Linked DNA regions of Homo sapiens: region 2 is linked to region 1. The links are contacts of gene promoters, found by promoter capture Hi-C in human tissues and cell types (Jung and others, 2019). All regions are on one chromosome and are shown on one strand. Each heading gives the region's core, a stretch centred on a gene start or on the middle of the fragment in contact. The rest is flanking DNA. Distances are from core to core; before and after follow the strand shown.

The links. Contacts are between HindIII fragments. The study calls those that stand out against the background at their distance.
Region 2: a fragment that was not itself captured here is called in contact with the fragment with the promoter of NXPE1 in region 1 in 2 of the 25 tissues and cell types used here (dorsolateral prefrontal cortex and liver).

The regions. Positions count from the first base shown.
Region 1 is chr11:114,557,213-114,562,398 of GRCh38, forward strand. NXPE1 (neurexophilin and PC-esterase domain family member 1) reads right to left here and starts at 2,669. Exons shown (of 9, transcript NM_001395504.1): 1 at 2,586-2,669. It also overlaps a transcript of NXPE2 not described here. The HindIII fragment of the contact is 13,622 bases long and covers 1-5,186 here.
Region 2 is chr11:114,746,195-114,751,380 of GRCh38, forward strand. It overlaps a transcript of NXPE2 not described here. Among named protein-coding and RNA genes, the nearest start is that of NXPE2, 70 kb to the left of the region's middle. The HindIII fragment of the contact is 3,238 bases long and covers 1,305-4,542 here.

The DNA.
Region 1 (5,186 bases), core at 1,419-3,918:
TATTAGTCAAAAACTCTAAAATTATTCTATTTCCATTCTCATTTAGCTTGTTATAAAAACTACTTTAATAATTTCTACTCTATTTTGGAAATTTCAATATGCATCTTTGACTTAATGAAGTCTAATATAAATTGGTACTTTTACTAATTATTAGGAAATGAGGGACCTTAGAAAACTGTACTCCATTTACATTTAACTCTTTCACATTTTCTTGCTATAGTCAGGCATTTCAGTTCTAGAAATATTTATTTTATTTCTTTTAGAGATGGAAAAGAAATATGCTGCCTAGGTTGGACTGGAACTACTGGGCTCAAGTGATCCTTCTACCTTAGCCTCCCATGTAGCTGGGACTATAGGCACTCACCACTGACTGGTTTAATTCTAGGAATATTTAAAACACCACAATATATTATATATAATACATATATATATATATATATATATATATATATATATATATAAAATCCTTGTTCATTTATATTTGTACATTTAGTTTCCTTCTTTTTCATTCTTCTTTGCCGTTCTCTACTGTCATTTGGGAGAATTTATCTTCTGCTTCAAGAACTATCTTTAATATTCTGTAAGACATCTTCTAGTGACAAATTCTCAAGGTTACATTTTAAAAAATCTTATTTTGCTTTCATTTTGAGGGTTTCTTTTGCGGGCTATACAATTCTAGATTGACAAGTGTTATTTATTTATTTTTGTTTTTGGTGGTTAAAAGCATCAGCACTTTGAATATGTTACCTCATTTTCCTTCTATTTCCCTAACTGCCCTTTGTTCCTCTCTTGCTTTCTCTCTAGAATCTAGATCTCTCAACCCCTCACTGCCCCAGTTGCTCTCTGACGCTTAACAGATCAAATATAACATCCTCTAGCTTTTCTAGTTGCTCTCAAAAGGAGACTATAAGCAAGTCTACTATTTTGGGAAACATAAATTTTATTTATAATTATAAATATAAACTATACACACATCTATGTATATGTGTTTATGTGTGTGTGTATATATATATCCATATATATGCACATTCTATATGTTTTTCTTTTTATTTCATTTTCCAAACAAATATCTGTGGCTGATGTGTAGAAATGCAAGTGCTTTATTTTAATAGTGCTTTTATATAGGCACACATAGAGAACAAAGATGATTAGAAGTGGCCATATTGGGTACGTTTGCCTTGTTTTCATAGTTAGTTTCAACATTTTACTATGTGTAATTAAATATATGATGTTGGATTTGTGATATTTGCTTTTCTTAATGCCTTCTATTAGATTGAGGAAGTTCTCTTTTAAGAAAGTTTGTGAAGTGTTTCTATTACTAATGGAAGTTGAGTTATTGACAAAGGCCTTTTCTGATTCATTGAGGTAATTATATGAATTTTTAAACTTTTATGTTTAAATGTGATGTATTACATTCGTATATTTTCTAAAGCTAAACAATCCTCCTGTTATGGACTTAAGCTGAACTAGGTCACAATATAGATTGGATCTTTATACATAACTCTGCTGTGCTATGTAAGAGTACAAATTAACATGATCGTTTTGAAAGCAGAATGGCAATATTTCTGTTAGTTTGTGTTTATCTATGCCCTATGTCCAAGCAATTCATTCTGGATACATCACAGAGGACTTCTCAGTCAGGTCCATAAAGAATCACATACAAAGTTTGTTTTCAGTTGATTATATGTATAGCTGTAATTGTAGGGAATTAAATAGACTTTAATATGTATTACTATGAAATGGTTAAGAAACATGTAGTGGATGTGTATTGTGGGATACTATCCAACAGTTAGATACAACTCACTAGATTTACCTGTAATATGAAGAGCTCTTAAAAACAGCTCTAAGTGAAGAAAGAAATAAACATAAATCTTTATCACATTTTTATGTAAATTAAAAATATACATACAAAGCACAATACATGGATACACACATACTCAAAGACAAAAATTAAAAAAGAATCCTTCCTGCTTTTCTGGCTTTGTTTATGACTCATCCTACTGCCCACCTGGGGTGGCCTGCCCCTGCACCAATCTAGACTCTATAGTCAGTGAATCCCCAGCTCAGGGGCAATCTCTACAGGAAACTTTCCAGCATAACTCTAGACCACAACGATCTCTCCCGTATTTTGAATTCCTGTGACATATTCATACATTTTCCACCCAAACAATGTCATACATAAAACAAGGCAAAGAAATATCAGTTGTAAACAGGTATTTTTGATGTCCTTCTTCCTCTCTCCAACTAGATGTTAGGTTGAGTGACTGTATCCATGCTTGCTTCCCACAAAGCACTGGGGACTTTTGCTGGTTGGTTATTAGAGAAATATTTTATCTTGATGCTGTCTCACCGTCAAAACCAGCCTATCCTTGTCAGTAAGAGAGGCTCTCACTATCAGTTTTTTTTTTTGTTTCCCACACTTTCTTCTGAGCTTTCTCCCTTTTCTTATCTTTCTCTGACTTGAGAGAACCCCTCAGCAGACACAGTCTTTCTAATTTCTTTTGCTTTGTTCTTCCCTGCCCTCCACTGACCACTGGCAAGATTAGAAATAGAGAAAGGCAGTCTCCATAGTTTTGCTTACTCACCTGTTTTAATGATCTCTCCTATCTGGGTGGCTGGAAAAGTACCTGTGAGTTCTTAACTGGCTCTTGTGGCTGTGTAAAATGTTTTTGTTCCTTGTCTGTGAACACATTTATTTTCATCAGTCTGTTTTCCTCGTAAATTGGCTTATCTTGGGGTGGAGATTTGAAGAGGCAATAAACAGTAGTACAATTAACTGACAATTAGATAATTCCACAGCCTCTGTTAACTGGGTGTTACTCGGGTATTCTTTGAGATTCCTTCTCTCTCCATGTTACTGGTGACCCTTGGGAATGGAAAACCTCTTAGTTCTGAAACAGCTGTGGTCCTTGAAGTCATAGTGTAAAAATACCCCAAGTGACTCTATGGATAGGCTTTCCTCAGAAAATCTGAAGTCTCACGACAACTCCAAACAAGAGAACAAATTGTCAGTGGACACCATGCAGAGAACTGGTGGGTGATTGAGAATTCTTTTTTTTTCTTTTTTTTTTTTTTTTGGACAAGGTTTTGCTCTGTTGCCCAGGCTGGAGTGCAGTGGCGTGATCATAGCTCACTGCAACCTCGAACTCCTGGGCCCAAGCCATCCTTCTGCCTTGGGCCTAGGGGCTACAGGTGCATGCTGCCACACCTGGCTAATATTTTTAATTTGTATTTTGTAGAGATGGGGTCTTACCATGTTGCCCAGGCTGGTCTTGAACTCCTGGGCTCAAGTGGTCTGTCTTCCTCGGCCACCCAAAGTGCTGGGATTACAGGCATGAGCCACTTTTCCCAGCTGGATCTTTTATCGGTTTGAAAAGGATATCTAATAAATGGGGAAGGACTATTTGCTCTGAGTTAGGGAAAGGGGATATGGTTCATTAACTCGTCATTATCATAAACATTATTTAATTCACCAATACAGTAAATGTTGCTGTAACTTCTGCTATGCCAAATGCCTGTAACATGAAAGGGAATATATGGGTGTATATGAATAATTAGGCCTATTAATCCTTCTTTCCCCTCTAACCCCTGGTCACCACTGGTTTTCTTACTGTCTCCATGGTTTTGACTTTTACAGAATGTCACATAGCTGCAATCATACAGTGTGTAGCTGTCCCAGATTGGCTTTTCTCTTAGCGATACGGATTTCAGTTTCTCTGTCTTTTTGTGGCTTGATAGCTTATTTCTTTAGTGCTGAATAATATTTTACTGACTACATATTGGAGACCTTTCTCTCATGCCTCATGCCCTTCCCTCTGGAACCTTCATATTTGTCATGTGACTGTTACTTCAGCTCTGTAACATAAATCTAACTTCATCTCTCTTTCTAAGCCTGGATGCCCAGACCCTGTGCCAATTTGTAAGATTTAGTTTTGAAGATCACAAGTATTATTAGTACTGTGCTAAGTACTCATAGGATTAAATGAATTAATACATGTACAACATTTAAAAACAGTTTCTGACACTTAGTTTAAGCACTAAATAATTAGCAACTACTACTATCACCACCCCAACTACTACTATTTATGCATGGGAGTAAATTTTGAGATTGGCTTTTTTCTCCCACTCAGCGTAACGTCCACGATGTCCATCCAAGTTATTGCATGTGTCAACAGTTCATATGAACATATTGCCTCACTCACAATTAGGCAATATTGTTTGTTACCTTGGTTTCTTTAACCAATATTGTTTCTAAAACCTACTCCTCACTACTCAATTTGTTTCTTATCTTGTAAAGTCTTTGGTAGCTCTTTCAGAGGGGACCAGTATTAGACTGAGTACATATTTTTTCTTCCTAAATAGATGATAAATTTACTTGCTATAGAATTAGGTGAAAAATATTTTTCTTCTTAGCCTTGAGGATACTGTTTCATTCTCTTCATGCATCCAATGTCATTTATGAAATGTCTGATGTCAAAGTTAGTATAATTGTGAATCTTTGTAGCATTTTTCTCTTCATCCTTGGTATTATGAAATTTTATGCAGATCTTTTTATCTTCATCATGTTTGGCGCTTTTAATGGCCCATTAGACCTGAGATCTAATATCTGTTAACTTTTCTTTCATAATTTTGATCACACTTTCCTTTTATTCTGTATTCTGCAAGAATTCTTGAGTTAACATTTTATTTCTCCAGTTTATTGTTTTCATTTTGAACTTTAGTGTGTCCCTCAAGTTTTTCTTTATTTCACGTATCATATTTTAAATTTAACAAATATCTAGTTAACTCTAAGTATGGCTGCAATATCCTCTCACATCAGTCTGGTAATTAAACACACTTATTCTAAATTCTTGTATCAACTGTCCTTTTAACTTTGTTTTCTTGGCATGTCAATTTCTTCTGATTATTGTGCTTTATGCCTCTCTTTCAAGTGTTAGTCTCTTTCAAATGATTGGTAATTTTTGGTTATGTGTTCATCTTTGCATTTGAAATTTTCTGCTAGCCTCCCTGTAAATGTTGGGTTTATTTATTGCATTTTCTTCTGGGAGAGTGGTTAGAAATATTTCCTGGTGCTGAGTGCCAATATCCAGTCTTCTGAGAGTCCATGCTCTCTTCTTCCCTCTTGGGGATTATGCACAGCACTGCTCTGTCTTCCCAGCCCTTGCACACATTCTCAGTGCTTCCAT
Region 2 (5,186 bases), core at 1,674-4,173, 190 kb after region 1:
CAGTCATGTTGTACTCTCGGTAATGAGGTGTTGACCCTCATCAAGGGGCATCCCTACTATGCAGGGTAACTAGTTATGGTAATGGGTATCATGGTACTATCTTTATTTCTGTCAGCTGAGCCAGGATTTCTGTCAAGGATATCATATACACTGAAGACAAAACAAAACAACAACTTTTAAAACACCTCGTAGAAGTCAAGTATTACAAGAAACCCAGTATGTCAAATCCAGAGAGATAAATCATTCAAGGATTGTTACAAAACCAGAGGTGCGTGAGAAAACATAAATTCAAAGAACCAAGAATTAGTAGGAGATCTACTTCAGGAGCTAAGAATTCAAGCATTTAAGGGACCAGGAATCAAAAGGGAACACCTGGGCTGGGCATGGTGGCTCATGCCTGTAATCCCAACACTTTGGGAGGCTGAGGTGGGCGGATCATGAGGTCAGGAGATCGAGACCATCCTGGCTAACACGGTGAAACCCTGTCTCTACTAAAAATACAAACAATTAGCTGGGCTTCCTGGCCCGCGCCTGTAGTCCCAGATCCTTGGGAACTTGAGGCAGGAGAATCGCTTGAACCCGGAATGTGGAGGTTGCAGCGAGCCAAGATAGAGCCACTGCACTCCAGCCTGGGCAATAGAGTAAGACTCCCTCTCAAAAACAAACAAACAAACAAACAAGCCAAAACCAAAAAAAAAAAAAAAACCCCACAAAGAACACCTTCCTTTTACATGGCCCTAAGCCTAAAGAAAGCAAAAATTTCTGTGTCTTGTTGCCATGTTAGTGTGTTATTGACAGCAGAAATCCATGTCCCCTATCTCTTTGGCTAATTTGTAGTAGTGTGTCACAAAATGTCACTCTTAGACCTCTTCTTTGATCTCTAATCAGATACTCATGTCTTCTACCTTCCCTCTATCCAGATTCCTTTCTTTGAATTGAGTGTCTCTATAGGATAGATTATACTACTGTAATGAACAACCACAAACTTAGTGGCTCAATTTTAAAAAGGGGTTTTTAAATCTGCTTACTTAATTTTTATGTTCAATTAGGTGTCTGACTCCCTGGTAACACTCAGGACCCAGGCCGATAGAGAACCTGCCATCTCATAGCTATAGCAACCCGGAATACATGACTTCTTCAATCACCACAGCAGGGAAACAGATATTGGAGAAGAGTATTTGGACTTTTCACTGCCTACACAGAAGTGATACATGTCACTTGATTACATAACTCACATATGCATTACCTCATGTATTAGTCCAGTTTTATATTGCTATAAAGAATGATCTGAGGGTATGTAATTTATAAAGAAAAGAGGTTTAATTGACTCACAGGTCTGCATGGCTGGGGAAGCCTCAGGAAACTTATAATCATAGCTAAAGGTGAAGGGGAAGCAAGACACATCTTACACAGTGGCAGGAGAGAGAGAGGGCAAGGGGGGAACTGCCAAGCACTTTAAAACCATCAGATCCCATGAAAACTCATTCACTATTATGAGAACCATGCGGAGAAACCAATCACCTGCCACCAGGTCCTTCCCTCAACACATGGGAATTACAATTTGAGATGAGAGTTGGGTGAGGACACAGCGCCAAACCATATCACCTCACATACTCATCATTTTTGTGGTGCGAAAAAATTTATAGCCACTCTCTTAGCATTTTTCAAGAATATGATATATTATCAAGTACAGTTGTCAGGCTGTACAATGGATTGCTTGACTGTATTCCTCCTATTTAGCTGAATTTTGTGGCCTTTGACCAACAGTGCCCCAATTCTCCCCAGCCCTTGGTGGCCATCATTCTACTCTCCACTTTCGTGAGATCACCTTTATTAGATGCCACATATGAGTGAAGTCATCTGGTGTTTGTCTTTCTGTGCCTGGCTTATTTCACTAAGCATCTTTCTTTTTGATCCACTCATCTTTACGTGCCATACTTACAAATGTTTTTTCATTTTCTTTCTTTTTTATTAATATTTTGTTTTGAAACAATTTTAACCTTACAGAAAATTTGCAGGTATGGTACAAAGCAGTTTATTTTTCCTGAGATGTTTGGGAGTAAATTGCCTATGTGTTGCTCCTTTGTCCCCTAGTACATGCAGTTCCTACTAATAAGGACTTTCTCCTATAAACCAAGACACAACCTGCAACATCAAGAAATTAACATTGATGCATCACTATCATTTAATCTTCAGACACACTCAAATTTTGCCAGATGTCTCAAAAGTGTTGTTTACAGCAAAAGAATTCAATTTGGAATCATGAGTTGCTTTTCACTGTCTTGTCTTCCCAGAGTCCCTCACTCTGGCCCAATTCTCAGTCTTTTCTTGATTTTCATTAGCTTGACACTTTTGAAGACTACAGACCAGTTACTTTTTACTGTGTTTTTCAATTTGCATTTGTTTCATGTTTCCCCTTTATTAGATTCAAGTTGTACATTTTGGCAGGAATATCACATAAGCGATCCTGTGTTCTTCTTGTCACATGCCATTAGATGACACAGATTCCAATTTTTTCACTTTGGTTACTTGAATGAGATGGTATCTGCCATGCTTCTCCACAACAAAGTCATTCTTTTTCCATTTGTATTTAATTAAAGTGCTGTGGGAAGTTACTTTGGAACTACATATATATCCATTATCAAACTTTCAATTTATTTATTGATTAATTTGTGTCAGGAATACATATGGTTTCCATTTTATTCAATGGATTATAATTAGTTGCCATCATTGTTTATTTTGATAATGAAATTGTGCTAGATCTGACCAGTGAGTGCCTCTTCAGATAGGCTTCTATGTCCGTTTGACATACCTTTATCATTCTTTGAGCTATTCCTTGTTTTCTAGGACAAGACATTCCAAATTCATCTTGTAATTTTGTTGCCTCAGCACTGGAATCTACCATTTCTCCAAAGAGTCCTGGTTCCTTTTAGTAAAGCATACGTATTTAGAAGCCATGATCTAGGCACCTGGTATGTGCATTGCTATTTGTGTTATTGTTCCTAGGCTCTATCAGGGGAGAGTTAGGGAATATATGTATGTATGCATATATATTTACATCTAAATTCATTCATGTATATCTAATCCATTATGCATATATACATACACACACATACATTTATGTATATGTATATAATGTATACAGTCAGCCCTCTGTATCAGCAGGGAACTGATTCCAGGACCCATCACACATACCAAAATCCACAGATGTTCAAATCCCTTATATAAAATGGGGTCAGCACTCTATCTGCAGGTTCCACACCTGCAGATTCAAGCAATTTTGGATGGAAAATTTGTACAGTTGGCCTCCCATATCCACCTGCTGATGTGAAGCCCACAGAAAAGGAGGGCCAACTGTACCTATATAATCTCCAAAAGTTCACAAGGATGCACCACAGGGCTCATTCTGGTATTCTCCCTTTTCATTTTTGTAATGCCTTTCTCTGACAATGACAAAACTATCTCTCATTATCCTTATTTCATCAATCCCCAGTACATGACCAACCATTCATTGCTACCATCCCTTCTTCATGTGAACACCCTCTTTGTGTCTAACACTCACACTGGCCGTCACCTCTGTGGGAATGCCCTTTCCACTCTTCTCAGGCTTTGAAACTCACCGTAAACCTCCTTCCACGTGGATGTCTTCTTCACCCTGCTCAAGCTTTGCCACCCTGTGCCTGATTCCCCACCCACCCCATCTGTGTCTTCCACATGAATGTCCTCTGATACCCATGCCTGGCCACCCTCCATGTAGACTCTCTTCTCTCCTTCCTCAGGCTTTGAACATTCGCCAAGATGCTCCCTGCCCTCCTCCAAGAGGACATTCTTCTCACCCACCCAGGCTCAGACCCAAGTGGCCCTCCTAGACAGGTGCTCTCTTAACTCAGCTCAGTTCAATGCCCTCCACTGCACTACTGAGGCTCCCTCCACCTCCGCATCAGGTACAGAGGTCCGTCTTGCTCTGCCTACCTAAAGGTGTTAGAATCAAACTCTTCAATAAGGGAAGGAAAGAGAAGTGAAAGATCTCACAGTTTCTTTGAGACAAATTTATCATATCTGGTATGTTTCTTTCCATTTTTGCTCCCCCAGTTCTCTTGCTCCAGGCTGTCACATGTCTGCGGACAAGTTTTACCCTTAATATCTGCCATGAGTAGTTTTATACAATTGAAAAAGATTTACTGAGCAATATATCCTTGATTTGATCCTTGCCTTTAGGTAATATAATTTGTTGAAAGATTTTATTGGCATCTATCCTGAAATTGCTTTTTGACTCTTAAGTTTTACTATATGGTGTCCAGAAGCAATTGGCTTTTCAATCCTGCAAAGTTCTAATTCTTAAATTTCCCCATTTCCTTTCATTTCTGCTTTCAAACTGGGAAATTCTTCCCTTGGCTTATTTCTTATAGTATCTAGCCAAACATGACAAACATCACTAAACAAACACTCCAACATTATGTTTTCCCCTTGAGTGCCAGCTTCACTTAAATATGATCTACTTCCCAAGTTACATAGGTGACAGTTTTACTAAATATTTGGTTACAATATAACATGAATCACAACCTTTGTAGCCTCTGATATTAGTTGTCTTGCCAATGGCCATCTAACTGTGAAGTCAGTGCCACATATTTGGTTGCTTTTTACACAGACTCCCAACTTTCGGTATGGAAGCCTGTATTAATCAGAGTAGACTAATTATGTTTTGATAGCAAATGATTCAACGTTTCAGTGCCTTAATACAACAAAATTTGATTTCTTGATGGCATTTTATGTCCTACTCTTGTTGTGGGGGTGGGGGGTGTGGAGTGAAGGTCCTGTTTTGCATAGTCACTCAGGGACTCAGGCTGTCAAAGGTCCTGCCATTCTGTATCTATACTATCTGAAATGACCACTCCCTAGTTGCTTCAGCAGGGGATAGAGACCGAAGAAGCATGCATGGGCTTTTTATTGCCTCATATCAAACTTGATATACATTACTTATGGTCACATTTCAATGGCCAGAATTAGCTATGTGGTCCCAGCCAACTGCAAAGGAGCAGAACGTGCAGCTTCTATGTGCCAAAAAGGAGAGAACAAAATATTGGCAAACGGTTGTACTACTTCTACAATACACCATTCGTTGGTTGATTCCAGTGGTGAGTCTCATTCCACCATGTTATTATTTATGAGATGTATTTTACACTAAT